2 separate regions of the Homo sapiens genome follow, and region 1 is linked to region 2. The links are contacts of gene promoters, found by promoter capture Hi-C in human tissues and cell types (Jung and others, 2019). All regions are on one chromosome and are shown on one strand. The core of a region is centred on a gene start or on the middle of the fragment in contact, and the rest is flanking DNA. Distances in the headings are between cores, read along the strand shown. Region 1 overlaps IMPG1 (interphotoreceptor matrix proteoglycan 1). Region 2 holds the start of IMPG1 (interphotoreceptor matrix proteoglycan 1).

Region 1 (2,700 bases), core at 111-2,610, 66 kb after region 2:
AATATGAAGAAATTAAGGAATGTAAGAAGAAGACCAAAAGTGCAGATAATCTTTGAACTAAGGCTCAAATCCTAATCAGAAACATATAATGATGTTTACTTCTTAGATTCATATCTCTCTCAAAGTTTCCATTCAAATTCTGATGGCAGTTTATATGAATCTTTCAAAGCTCTGAACAAACAAAAGAGACAATGGAAAGAAATATTTTTTTCTTTTGTATATAAAATAATTCATTGAATGTCTCAATAAATGTCATTAAATTTTTTTCTCTTTTTCATGTTTCCATTGTGCATGATGAAATGAAGACCAAAGAAAGAAAAAGATGGGTAATTTGGACTTTAAGTTTTGAAATATAGTACATTCCCGTCTCCCCCAAATTTATATACTGATTTTGCACAAATAATTTTTACATATAATGTCTTGGATAAGCCCATTACTTTTTGATGGTTTCTTATTTAAATGGAAGTAATTGAACAATTGTCCAGTAGTTAAAAAAAAAAAAATTCTCTTATCAAAGTCACTATGTGGGATACAGGTAAATATTTCCTTGGTCAGCTGAACAGGATTTTATCATACTCAAGGTATAGTTAGAAAAACATAAAAACACTATCTGTGCTGCAAGCATAATTTATTTCTTAAATGCCATTTGTAATGGGCAGTTGTCTATCTGAAAGCACACACATACATGGAATCAACCTAAGTCTGGAATAAAGCAGAGAAACTAATTTGCTCCTTTCCAAGGTCAATGTGAACTGAGAAAAGGGCCCACTATACCTTGGAGAGCTCAGTAATAAGAATCAACTTTGGCTCTGTAATTGACTAGTGAAATAACAAACGATAGACTCTAAATGATTGTGTCATCTGAAAAACCACCAAGAATACACGTGATCAGTTTCTGTGGCCTTTAAAACACTTCTACATCACTCTGTCTAGATTTATGACATGAACTAAAGGTAAAACCTAATTCCTGAGGACAGAGACATAGAGAATCCTGTTTCATTTTTGCATGCAAAAAAGCTTTGAGTTAATGAATAGGATAATAAATACAGTTACCTATGTCCTGCTTATTTTTCTCTTTTCTCACACCTTCCTTCTAAGATGTTATTTTAAAAGCAGCTTGAGGGAAAAGAGTATTATGTATCATTTAAAGTTGTATTTTTTTAATTAAAAAATACTTATTTTAAAAAAGTAGAAAAGAAATAGCCTTAAGAACTGAACCTTTGACTTGGTTACAACACATATGTATATATATATATACACATACACACACACACACGTATATATACCCATATGTATATAGGTGTATATATATGTGTGTATATATACACCTATATACATATGTATATACACACATACCCATATATGGGTATATGGATGGGTAATTTGGACTTTTTTTACATATATATACTATATATATATATTTTACATATATGTGTATATGCATAATAGTATATATATATTGTGTGCATATATATAATATACATATATATATATACTATTGTCCTACTGCTATATCTTACATTGCTATTTCATAGACCTTCCTAAAGGAGGCTATTTGTAGAAGAAAGGATAATTCATCCTTCTTCCTGATTGGCACGGCATGACTTATAAGATCACAAAAAATAGTGGTCAATACCAGCAACTTTTTTGACAAAAAGCACTTTTTCAAAAAGACCTAGGTGGGCACAGTGGCTCAGGCCTGTAACCTCAGCACTTTGGGAGGCCACAGCAGGCAGATCGCTTGAGCCATGAGTTTGAAACCAGTCTGGGCAACACAGCAAGACTCTGTCTCTACAAAAAAATTTAAAATTAGCCCACTTCCTTCCTGTGTTCCCAGCTATGCTGGGGGATAAGGCAGAAGGATCACCTGGGCCCCAGGACTTCAAGGCTACAGTGAGCCATGACCATGCCAATGCACTCCAGCCTGGGTAACAGAGTGAGACCCTGTCGCAAAAAAAAAATAAAAGAAAGAAAGAAAAAAAAAAACCTAAAGTAAAAATCTATGGTCACTTGATTCAGTTAGTAATCCTTCTTTGAGGTGGACTGACCTCCCTCCTGCCATTCTATTTTAGAACTAAAAGATATATTTATTCTTTTTTCATATTTTAAGTTTCTGATAAATGTTGAAATGTTTTAAAGTGGGATATTCTCTCCGAGCCCATCAGGAAAGAGGTGGAAGCTATCCTGAAGCTTTGTAGCAATCTAGTGATTCTCTTTGCAAGGCATGTAACAATGGCTTTGGGTGGGGAATGTGTCCTCTGCTATCTACAGCTCAAGCTCCACAGAGATGCAACTTACGGCCATCTTTAAGAGACACAGTGCAGAAGCAAAAAGCCCTGCAAGTGACCTCCTGTCTTTTGATTCCAACAAAATTGAAAGTGAGGAAGTCTATCATGGAACCATGGAGGAGGACAAGCAACCAGAAATCTATCTCACAGCTACAGACCTCAAAAGGCTGATCAGCAAAGCACTAGAGGAAGAACAATCTTTGGATGTGGGGACAATTCAGTTCACTGATGGTCAGTTAATGATTGCTTAGTTCTGAGTTTATTCTCATTTTGGCAGAGACTAAGAATGTGAATGTCTCATGGAAACTGTCATTTTAACTTGGGTCTTCTAAAGTCGATCATTACTGTGACAGGAATACATATGGTATCATTTCTAGCTTTTCTCACTCCTTCCTGTGTCTCATTTGATGAG
Region 2 (2,700 bases), core at 162-2,661:
AAAAAAGTTTTTTTTAATGAGACTATGCAAAAAGTATCATAGAAGGATAGTGGTGAAGAGTATAGGCTCTTGGCCAGGTGCGTGGCTCACACCTATAATTCCACCACTTTGAGAGGCCAAGGCTGCTGGATCACTTGAGCCCAGAAGTTCGAGACCAGCCTGGGCAACATGGTGAAACCTCATCTTTACAAAAAATACAAAAAATTATCCAGGTGTGGTGGCATCTGCCTACAGTCCCAGATACTCAGGAGGCTAAGGTGGGAGGATCACCTGACCCCATGGAAGTTGAGGCTGAAATGAGCCAATGAGCCAAGACCACGCCATTGCACTCCAACCTGGGTGACAGAGTGAGACCCCCATCTCAAAAAAAAAAAAAAAAAAAAAAAAGGGTGTAGGCTTTTGAACCAGACTCTTTAGGTTTAAATCCTAGCTCTGCCACATATACTTTATTCTCCTCAAATTTAAAAGAGATAGTATTAACAGTGTTTATATTGTCATATTGAGGAATCTATGGATAATCTATGGACATCTCTAAGAACAATGTCTATCCACAACACAAGAGCTCCATATACAGTAGTAGTTGCAGTGTGTTTCATGACTCAGCAATATGTAGCATGTATAGTCAAAATAATATAAAATCAAATATTCAAAAACTGAAATTACAATAATACTGATGAAGAAAGATGGAAAGATGTTTACAATGAGTAGAAAGGGTATGTGTGGAAGTGAAGTTATTCTCAATATCTATTATTTGATAATACCTAAAAGTGAAAACCTCCAAAATAGTAATAGAGGCATGTTATTTAGAAGTGCAAATGAGACTACTAGAAGAATTAGGTTGATGAAGTAAAAATGGCTCCCCTTTGAAAGAAGGCATGGGTAGAAGAAAGGCACAATTTTTTCTTACAAACTTTGTAGAAAAAAAGTATTTGACCCCTTAAACACAGTGCATACAGATTTTAAACATTAAAACCAGACTTAAATCAAAAAAGCCACCTGTATGTAATTCCAAATCAAAAGCAATTTATAAAGCAGAACATAGAAGAGAATGGAGACAGTTTCGCTATCTGTGGAGACTAATACATATTGGATAACCATATACTTTCAGGGACAGAAATTAAGCTCTTTTAATGGATGTTTCTTGTACATGTCATTTTAGAAAACATCTGACCCTAACTGTCAGCCTTATTCTCTGTTTGGCAGAACTTCCCCTGGCTCTCTGTGTCACTGTAACAGGTGAATAACTAAGAAAAAACTGTGTCTGTAGACACTTGTTTATAATGGCATTCAGGGTCCTGGAGCTAGGCTGACAGATGCTCCTCCAGAAGGTTAATGAGATAAAGGTTCCTCCAGCTGGCCCTTAAGCAGAGATTACACCTGAGGGAAAGACAAGCAGATTATTCCAGAAACAGACACTGCTACATGTTCTTCATAAATTAACACCCTCATAAAGGTAAACCAAGAAGGTTATCCTCAATCATCTGGTATCAATATATAATTATTTTTCACATTTCTGTTACTTTTTAATGAGATTTGAGGTTGTTCTGTGATTGTTATCAGAATTACCAATGCACAAAAGCCAGAATGTATTTGGAAACTAGAAGAGCTATTTTTGTTTTTTGGATTTTTCTCCAAGTTCAAGGAACCAAAGGTAAGTTACTTAAATGTTTACTTTTAAATTGCTTATCTATAAAATCTACCGATAGAAGTGAATATTTAGAACCAACAAGGCTACCAATTGATCTCACGGGCTAGTATATAGTAGGCCTTGAATAAATATTGCTTGATTGATTGAATAATTAACTATCAGAAATGATTTTCACTTGATTTAATATTTACTACATGGTCTTAAGTGCAGTGAAGATTAACAAAATAGGAGAGATGAATGCATCCTATTTGCTGTTCTAAAACATTCATTGAAAATTCTTATTATTAATGTAAATAATATTAGTAGATCTGTGAAACTAACTCCATTTATCCACCGAAATTCAACAAATAAAACCTAAAGATAAAAGTAATGTTTTAAGTCATTTATGGTCAGACAAAAAAAAGTAAGTATTTCTTACCTTCTCACAATGAAATCATGAGTTGCTTTCCCTTAGAAAATAGCAAACATTCTTCATCTTCAGGGTTCATGATGACAACCACTTCAAAATTTGGTTGTTTTTGAAGTTGTACGCATAAAAGAACTAGGCAATGTATGTTCTTATGGCAAATCTGCATCTGAATATGAAATTAAAATAAGCCACAAACAGGATGTTTTAAGAAAAATAATGTGTGTTTTAAAAAAGAAACACACATGTTGGAGAAAGTTTGACTTTTTTATATAAGGATAAGCCTACCTATCATAATATACTCAATCTTTTTAAGACATTTGAAGTCAATAAGGTTAAGAATTTCTTTAAGAATGACATAGCTTCATGATGATAAACATTTTAACTAAAGTATTGGTTTGGAATATCCATGAAAAAGTAAAATTAATAGTCATTGCATGTGTAAGTCACAAAATAACTGTGATTCCATCAGTCATGTTATATGAAACTTCTCAGTGATTGCATTTGGAGGGAGAAAAAAATTTCTGGAAAAGATTTCTTCATGTTTTCACAATAGTGAAAGAAGCAAAATTTATTTACTTTTTCATTAAATTATCAATTATATATAAATATTTACATTTATAAAATCATTTTAATTAGAAATAAA

What was found. Contacts are between HindIII fragments. The study calls those that stand out against the background at their distance.
Region 1: a fragment that was not itself captured here is called in contact with the fragment with the promoter of IMPG1 in region 2 in 2 of the 25 tissues and cell types used here (aorta and dorsolateral prefrontal cortex).

The regions. Positions count from the first base shown.
Region 1 is chr6:76,005,106-76,007,805 of GRCh38, reverse strand. It overlaps IMPG1 (interphotoreceptor matrix proteoglycan 1), which reads left to right. Exons shown (of 17, transcript NM_001563.4): 9 at 306-326; 10 at 2,272-2,519. Among named protein-coding and RNA genes, the nearest start is that of IMPG1, 66 kb to the left of the region's middle. The HindIII fragment of the contact is 3,967 bases long and covers 1-2,700 here.
Region 2 is chr6:76,071,373-76,074,072 of GRCh38, reverse strand. It overlaps IMPG1 (interphotoreceptor matrix proteoglycan 1), which reads left to right and starts at 1,411. Exons shown (of 17, transcript NM_001563.4): 1 at 1,411-1,651. The coding sequence starts at 1,585. The HindIII fragment of the contact is 12,797 bases long and covers 1-2,700 here.